2 separate regions of the Homo sapiens genome follow, and region 2 is linked to region 1. The links are contacts of gene promoters, found by promoter capture Hi-C in human tissues and cell types (Jung and others, 2019). All regions are on one chromosome and are shown on one strand. The core of a region is centred on a gene start or on the middle of the fragment in contact, and the rest is flanking DNA. Distances in the headings are between cores, read along the strand shown. Region 1 holds the start of PPP1R26 (protein phosphatase 1 regulatory subunit 26). Region 2 has its middle 9.6 kb from the start of COL5A1.

The links. Contacts are between HindIII fragments. The study calls those that stand out against the background at their distance.
Region 2: a fragment that was not itself captured here is called in contact with the fragment with the promoter of PPP1R26 in region 1 in 1 of the 25 tissues and cell types used here (lymphoblastoid cells).

The regions. Positions count from the first base shown.
Region 1 is chr9:135,477,377-135,481,811 of GRCh38, reverse strand. It overlaps PPP1R26 (protein phosphatase 1 regulatory subunit 26), which reads right to left and starts at 2,030. Exons shown (of 4, transcript NM_014811.5): 1 at 1,790-2,030. RefSeq lists silencers at 1,389-1,438, 1,449-1,508. The HindIII fragment of the contact is 17,940 bases long and covers 1-4,435 here.
Region 2 is chr9:134,629,969-134,634,403 of GRCh38, reverse strand. No RefSeq gene overlaps it. Among named protein-coding and RNA genes, the nearest start is that of COL5A1, 9.6 kb to the left of the region's middle. The HindIII fragment of the contact is 7,228 bases long and covers 1-4,435 here.

The sequences.
Region 1 (4,435 bases), core at 781-3,280:
CCCCTCCTCTGCTAAAAATACAAAAATTAGCTGGGCGTGGTGGCGTGTGCCCGTAATCCCAGCTACTGGGGAGGCTGAGACAGGAGAATTGCTTGAACCCAGGAGGCAGAGGTTGCAGTGAGCCGAGATCGCGCCACTGCACTCCAGCCTAGGAGACAGAACGAGACTCCATCTCAGAAAGAAAAAAAAAAATCGAGGGGGGTCGTCTCCCCAGGACAGCTTGTGGCTTTAAAACATTATGCGAGATGAATCATTCTTGAAAAGCCCCCTGGGTCGGGGATAGTGGCTCACACCTGTAATCCCAGCACTCTGGGAGGTGGAGGCAGGTGGATCACTTGAGGCCAGGAGTTCGAGACCAGCCTGGCCAACATGGCGAAACCCCATCTCTACTAAAAACACATAAATTAGCTGGGCGTGGGAGCCCACGTCTGTAGTTCCAGCTACTCCAGGGGCTGAGGCACGAGAATCGCTTGAACCAGGGAGGCGGAGATTACAGTGAGCCGAGATCAGCCATTGCACTCCAGCCTGGGCGACAAAGCGAGACTCTGGCTCTAAAAAAAAAAAAAAAAAAAAAACAAGAAAAGCCCCCTAATCAGTCCTTAGAGATAGGTGTGGGCCCAAGCCAGAGGTGCAGGCTTTGTCAAATTGCTGCCTCAGGATACGGTCTTGAGGGTGGCTGTGGGGACACCCAGCACCTGCACCCCAAGGCCACACGGTGTCAGATTTTAGGAAGCGGTGGAGAACACTCGGGTACCTTCTCGGTCCAGACATCAACCTTCTGGAGAGAACCAAAGCACCCACACTGGGCCCTCGCCATCCTAACAGTCTGCCCACCTGTGAGAAACGCCCCCAAATACTCTACATTTCTCGGTTGGCCGAAAAGCAGCTCAGCCAGCGGTCTTACCTCCCAGGTGGGGTTTCCCCCCAGGGTAGGGAGGCCAGGGTCTGCAGGCCAGGGAGAGGAGCCCCGGTGCAGGAGCGGGCGGGGCAGCAGGAGGACCCGCTCCAGCCACCCAGAAGTGGGCGTGGGCTAGAATTCAGCTCCCAGCCTTCCAGAAGCTGCAATTTTACAACCTCACTACAAGCGTCCCCCAGCAAAGCTGCACCGCCATTTCCTGTGCTTGGGAACTGAAGGCAAGGTGAGCCCCTCCCGGCTGCCCCGGCCCGACCTCCCCTGACTCCCAAGCTTGGGCTACTCACGGCCTGCGGGCTGGGCAGGGTCCCCCAAGGGAGCTCCCCTCCCCGAGGGCGCGCTCACCCTAGCCGCTGGGATCGGCGACCTGGTCCTCGGCCCGGCGGGAGTGAACGCCTCCCAGGGAAGAGGCCGGGCCTCCAAGCAGGTCTGCACCCCCGGAGTTATGTTTCTGGGATCCGAGGACTAGCGAGCTTGGGGCCCGGGAGAGCGGCCACCCTCCCGGAAGCTCCGCCTGGCGCAGGGCGTGAACCGCAGTCTCCAGGCCGGCCGGGCCGCGGCCATTCTCGGAGGGCAGCGGCCGCCCCGGGCCGGGCCAAAGCTCCCCACCGCGGGCCCTCACCTGCGCCTCACCTGGGGCTCCAGGAGCGCGGGGCGCGCGGGCCGAGAGTCGCACGGAGGCCAGAGACAGGATCCCCGCCCGGGGAACGGAGCAGCCCCGGCGCCGATCCCCGTCCGCCTGCCTCGGGGAGCCCCCGCCGCCCGCCCGCCGCGGCCTGCACGGCGCGCCGGCCCCGGCCTGGCTGGCCCTCCTGTCCCCGACCCCCCAGCTTCCCAGCCCCCGAGCCCCCCGGCCCCGGCCCTGCACCCGCTCACCTCCGCCCGTCCCCCGCCGCCCGCCGCGCGGACCCCGCCTGCGCCCGCGTCCCACGTCCCGGGGGAGGCGGCGGGCCGGGGGCGGGCCGGAGGCTGCAGGGCCAGCGCGCTCCGCCCTCGGCCGGGGCGCGGGGAGGGGGCGCAGGGGCGTCCGGCCGGGCCCCCCGCCTCCCCGCCTCCCCGCGCGCCGCCGCTGCCGCCGCCCCGCGCCCGGGCCGCGCCGTGGGAAGCGCGGGAGGGGAGGGGCGGGGCGGGGGGCGGGGCGACCCCCCCAAGCCGCCCCCTCCCCGCGACCTACCGGACGGTGGCGGCGGCGGCCGCACTCCGGAAGCCGTGCCCGTGGCTGGGCATCATGGGAATGGCACGGCCGAGTTCCGGGGGAGGCGCGCGGCCCGGCCGGACCCCCGCCCGCGAGAGCGCGCCCACCTGCCGCCGCGCCCGCGCCCCGGGGACGCCCCCGCCCCGCCCCGCCCGGTTCGGACGCGGCCCCCTCCGCGGGGTGCGGGGCGAAGGCGCTTGGGCCGGGCCGAGCCCCGTGCTGCCCGCCTCCCGTACCGCGGCCACCTCCGGGGGGCGCGCAGGGGGCGCGGGGTCGCCGGGAAGTTCTGGGCGCGGGGGGCGTGGCCGTGGGAAAGCGCTCGGAGCCGCGGGAAGGGAGCGTGCGGGGCCCCGGCGCCAACCGAGTTCCTCCCCGAAGTTCACGCGGGGCTCCGGGCTGAGACCGGCCCGCCCGCCCCTCCAGCCCCACAGCCTTGGGCCGGGGTCGGGGGCGGCCCCCGCGTGTCCCCGCGGCTGCCCCACCCGAGCTTGCGGCGGGGAGTGGACGCACGACCTGCCCGGGGCGGCGGCTCCTCGAGCACACCTGCCGCCAGGTTCGGGGGAGGGAACAGTTTCTAGGAACTGCCCCGGACCTTGAGGCCGCTGCTGTTTCTGCTTCTGCTGTGCACTGACCATGTGACCTTGAAAGTCTTCCCAGTTTTGTTTTATAAAAGGTCCAGGGTGTGTGCCCGAGGCTGGCGGTGGCCCGGGTGTGCTCAGCATCCCCGGGCGGCGGGGAACGGGCAGACCCGACTGGATCCTCCCTCAGCGCCCACTCGTGGAAGGGGCAGATGGTGCGCAGGGGCACCGCGCTGCTTCTGTAAGCCCCCTGGGCCCTGATCCACACGTGTCTGGGAGATGAATTTGTGGGTTCGGTTCCTGTCTAGAAAGTGTCAGAGATTTGATAGGATCAAAATCAGAGACTTGCCTTGGAGGGGTGCTTCTAGTCATGCCAGCCTGGGAAGCTGGAGGGCCAGTTTTGGGTCAGGAAACCCATTAAAGAATTGTTTTAATGCCTTCGTGAATTTTTTCAAAAAGCAATTTTTTTTTTCTCATGAAATAATACTCTTTCATTACCAAACTTTGGGGAGATGATCTAATTAATAAGGTGACTTCCCAGAGACATGGGCTGTTAAGGTTTTGGCATGCTGCTTCACAGTTTTTAAAACAGTGCTGTGGTGAACAGCTTTCATGATGCCTCCTTAGAGCGGCTCTGAGCATTTCCTGCGGGCAAATCCCTAGAAGAGGCCGGCGGGCCAAAGACTATGCTGCATTTTGCCAAAATGCCCTCCAGAAATGCGGGGCCAGCCTGCCGTCCACCCACTGGTGAGCGGGCATGCCCGCTTGCCTGTCCTCTTGCCAGCCCTGAGATATGTCATTGCGTTATGTCTTTGGCAGTCTGATAGGCGAAACAGCCCTTTTCATCACTTGAATCCTAATTTCTTTGACTGCTGGTGATGTTGAACATCTTTTCATTTTATTATTGGCCATTTGGAATATTGCCTGTCTGTGTTCTTTGCCCATTTTTTATTTTTCTGTTGGGCTGTGTGTCTTTTTCTTAGGGATTCTAAGAGCTTGTTACCGTAAGGAATTTAGCTCTTCTCTGTGCTGTATGCTACTCTGTACAAGAGCGTAAATGCAATGTATGGTCGGGCGCGGCGGCTCACCCCTGTAATCCCAGCACTTTGGGAGGCCAAGTTGGGCAGATCACCTGAAGTCAGGAGTTTGAGACCAGCCTGGCTAACATGATGAAACCTCGTCTCTACTAAAAAATACAAAAATTAACCGGGTGTGGTAGCGGGTGCCTGTAATCCCAGATAATCGGGAGGCTGAGGCAGGAGAATTGCTTGAACCCAGGAGGTGGAGGTTGCAGTGAACCGAGACGGTGCCACAGCACTCCAGCCTGGGTGACAGAGCGAGACTCTGTCTCAGAAAAAAAGTGTATTGTACAACAGTACAATAACACAGAATATTGTACAGTAGTACAATATACTCTTGTACATTGCATTTATTTTTCTGTCATTTTTCTTTTGACTTTGGATTTTGGTTTTTTGTTTGTTCAACCTTTTTTTTTTTTTTTTTTTTTTTTTGAGACAGGGTCTTACTCTGTGTACACCCAGGCTGGAGTGTAGTGGCGTGATCATGGCACTGCAGCCTCAACCTCCCCCGGCTCAGGTTATCCTCCCACCTCAGCCTCCCCAGTAGCTGGGACTACAGGTGCACGTCACCACGCCTGGCTAGTTTTTGTATGTTTTTGTAGAGATGGGGTTTTGCCATGTTCCCCAGGCTGGTCTTGAACTCCTGGCTTGAGTGATCCACCCTCCTTGG
Region 2 (4,435 bases), core at 666-3,165, 850 kb after region 1:
AGGAAGAAGGTTCCAGATCCTGTCCCTTTTCCTGAATGTGGGACAACTCAGAAGGGCCGTCCCTGCTTCCGAGTCCTGCGGTCGGGGGGCTCCATGAGGCCTCTGCAGAATGCATGCACCTGCGCCCCGGCTTGCTGCCCTCGCCCCCACAGGCCTTGTTTCCAGAGTCCGCCTAGAAAACCCAGAGCCTCAGAGTCAGCTACCAAGGACCCTGACATAAACACTGTCCTCCTAGACACTTCTCCCTGCAGACAGGGGTCAGCAGGGCCCAGGTTCAGGGCCCAGGGGTTCAAGAAGTAGGGACGCTTGTGGGAGCACGTCCCAAAAGGATACAAGAGGAGGAGGGGCATCTTGGGGCCAGGTGCCACCCCTCACTGATGCCATCCTGGACTCTTCTCCCCCTGCAGAGGGAATGCACATGCCCAGGCCCAGAGGAAGCCACAGAAGGCCACTCCAAGGAGGCTGTGATGGAACAGGGAGGAGGTGGCCTGGGGGCTGAGGGGCTGGAGACAGGAGGGTGGAGCGGCTGGCACAGGGACAGGAGAGCGGGGTGGCTGGCACAGGGCAAGTCAGTCTAGGCAGGGAGTTTGTATTCTTCCCAAGGAGAATGGGGATGCGTAGAGGGTTTTAAGAGGAGAAGGCTATGTCATACTTGCATCCTGGAAAGATCTCTGACTTCAGTGTTGAGGATTGCTTAGAGGAACAAGAGGTGGGGCTCAAGTCAGAGGCAGCTATGGTTTCCAGGGAGAGGGGAGACGGGTGGGATGCCTTCCAGTACACGGTGGAGGAGGAATCGGCTGGGACTCGCCAGCAGCAAGGGCAGCGGTGCCCAGGACCCCGCCCAGGCTGTGCCTCTCATCATTTGAAGGCCTTTGCCTTGGACACTGTCAGCTGCAGAGTGCACCTCTGGCCAGGCCCCCGCGAGGTAGGCACTGTGGCCCTGCCTGTTCCCAGACGTGGTGTATCAGTCTGTTCCCACACTGCTATGAAGACATATCCGAGACTGGGTAATTTATAAAGAAAAGGGGTTTCATTGACGCACAGTTCCGCATGGCTGGGGAGGCTTCAGGAAACTTACAATCATGGCAGAAGGCACCACTTCACAGAGCAGAAGGAGAGAGAATGTGTGCTGGGCAAAGCGGGGAAGCCCCTTATAAAACCATCAGATTTTGCGATAACTCACTCACTATCAAAACGACAGCATGGGGGAAACCACGCTTATGATTCAATGACCTCCACCTGGTCCCGCCCTTGACGTGTGGGGATTACTACAATTCAAGGTGAGACTTGGGTGGGACACAGAGCCAAACCATATCACATGGGAACCATGGACCCCATCACTCAGGACCCTGTGCAGGGCCTCCCACAGGGAGCAGAAAACAGAGTCTATCCAGGAACCTCTCTCGGATATTGTTTTCCATACCATCACCTCCTTCTCATGGTCTCACACATGGCAACCACCCACCCCCCATTCTCCTGGCCCTTGGCACTAACTTCCCTGTGAGGGAGGCAAAGGCCGCAGTTCCCATTTCACAGATAAAGAAACTGAGGCCTTGAGATAGGACTGATTTGTCTCAGGTAGGAAACCAGCGCATCTGCCCGGGTCTGGCAAGAGCCCCTGCGAGTGACCTATGAGATTCAGATGGCGCGTTCTTCCCTCAGAGAGGCAGGGCTGCCTGCTGGTTACACACACCCTAACCATACTTCCTGGCCCACTTACGTCAAGCCTCATCAAAAATCCCCATCCATGGGGCCTTGGGGACCCCCTTCCTGAGCCGGGTGCTAAGAGGTTTCATGGATTCACTGTCTCATCCATCCCCTCACCATGGCCATGCGGTGGGAGCCGACAGACACTGAAGACCTGGGGTGTTACATGGCTTTGGGAAAGTCATTCTGCAATTTGAACAGGGTCCCCCAAGTGCAGGGAGCTCACCATGACTTTTGGGCTTCACTGTGGGATGCATATTTACATGCATCCTGGCCCCCGGGCAGACCCTGAGAATACACGGCCGCTCATCTGGGGTAAGGCCTGAGGCTGTTTGACGTCATGCGAGCACACCCTCTGCCTCTCAGGGCAGTGTTCAGGCGGGACAAGGATGCCCTGCTCATTGGCTGAAACAGCCAAGCTTCATTTGTTAAAAATTCTAGTCCTTGAGCCACGCCAACTTCATTATGGTCCTTGCCTCGGAGTCCTGGAGCTGCCATAAGAAAATACCACAAACAGCGAGGCTTAAAACAGCAGAAATGTTTCTCTCCCGGTTCTGGAGGCTCGAGACCTAGATGTTGCAGGGTCACGTGCCTCAGAGGCTCCTCCCTGCCTGCTCCGGTCCTGGCGGCTCCAGGCCTTCCTTGCGTGGCTCCAATCTCTACCTTCGTTTCACACCACCTGTCTTCAGGGCATGCTGTTGTTTTGGCCTCCTCTGCCTCCATCTTACAAGGACACCTGGGATGGTATTTAGGGCCAGGCCAGCCTGGCTAATCCAGGAGGATGTCCTCATTCATCTCAGGTCCTTAAGCTGATTGCATCTGCACGGACCTTTTTTCAAATAAGTCCATCTTCACAGGTTTGGGGTCTGGGACATGGGAGTATATTTTGGGAGCCACTTTCCACCCCGTATTAGTCAGAGTTCCCTAGAGGGACAGCACTAATAGGGTAGCTGTACATATGAAGGGGATTTTATTAAGGAGAATTGACTCACGCGATCACAAGGTGAAGTCCCACCATAGGCCATCTGCAAGCTAAGGAGCCAGGAAGCCAGTGTGAGTCCCAAAACCTCAAAAGTAGGGAAGCCCACAATGCAGCCTTCAGTCTGTGGCCGAAGGCTCAAGAGCCCCTGGCAAATCACTGGTGTAAATCCAAGAGTCCAAAAGCTGAAGAACTTGGAGTCTAATGTTCAAGGGCAGGAAGCATCCAGCATGGGGGAAAGATGGAGGCCAGAAGACTCAACCAGACTTTTCCTTCCATGTTCTTCTCCCTACTTTCTCCTGGCCATGCTGGCAGCTGATTAGATGCTGTCCACCTGGATTGAGGGTGGGTCTGCCTCTCCCCGTCCACCGACTCAACTGTGAATCTCCTTTGGCAACACCCCCACAGACACGCCCAGGAACAGTACTTTGCATCCTTCAATCCAATCCAGTTGACACTCAATATTAACCATCGCAATGCACTACATTCCAGGACACAATAAAAGAGGCCTCTGTACCCCACGTCTTCCTGTGCTCTCCAGCTTTGGAGGCTGAGAAGACAGTGGGGTGGAGACAGCCATGGTTTGGAGCAATGGGGGGTAAATGGTGCCTGCTGTGCACCTGGGTGTTGGGGGCAGAAACCTGTCTCCAACAGGAGGCTTCAAGCTGGCAAGAACACGTGGGGAGCTTGGTCAGAGGCTGCGTGCGGTGGCGCAGTGCTCATGTGAGATGCACGCCGTCTGGGGCTGTTATTTTTTCCAGCAGGCTCTAGTTTTATTTGTTTTCATTTTTAGTATTAAACCAATGTTTTTAATGGAAATACCTCCCAGATTAGATTTTCTTCCATAAGAGGAAGTGAAAACGGATATAGAATTTAAAATGACTCTCAAACTGGAGTCGAACCCAGAAGCCATATGTATTCCACCCTCAAAGTCTTTGAGCCTGGTCCACAAGCTGAGCCTCCGGGAGGGTTCTCGGGCCACAGAGAAGCAGCAGGAGGAGACAGAGGAAGAGTCCACACAGGAGGTGAACACTCAGGCTCAGGACCCTAGAAGCAGGCTGAGGGCCACAGCGCCCAGGTGAAGGAGCCAGGACCCCCTCCCAGCCCATTCCTCCAGGGCGCCGTCTCTTTCACTTCCACCTTCCAGCAAAAACAGGGCTGATCAGACGCCCAGGGCCTGGCGGGGGCACGGGACAGGAGCGTGGGCAGGGAAGCTCGGCTGCGGCAGGCCAAGAGTGGCTCCTGAAGAGAGGCCCACACTCACGCCCCGAACCCCTGGATATGATCTTATTTGGAAAAAGGGTCTGTGCAGGTGCAATTAGGTTAAGGACTGTAAATGAGGCCATCCTCCTGCGTTTGCCTCATGGGCCCCAATCACCACCCCCAGTGTCCTTATAAGAGAGATGCAGAGGAGATTAAAAGCCAAGAGAAAACCCATGTGAAGACAGAGGTGGAGTCTGGAGCATGGCGGCCACAAGCCAAGGAGCACCTGAGCCCCCAGAGCTGGAGAAGGCAGGAGGGTGCTCCCCTGGAGCCTCTGGGGGTGCAGCCCTGCCGACGCCCTGGCTGCGGACTCCAGGCTCCAGCGCTGAGGGAAGAGATCCGTCTCTAGCCTTCGAGGTTGTGCTCCTTCCATCCTGTGGTGGCCACAGGACTCACCCACACAGACTTCTGAGCTCAGGGCTCAGTGGGCAGGCCCACAGCATGGGGCACCTGGAAGGGCTGGGACAGCGCCAGCAGGGGAGGGGC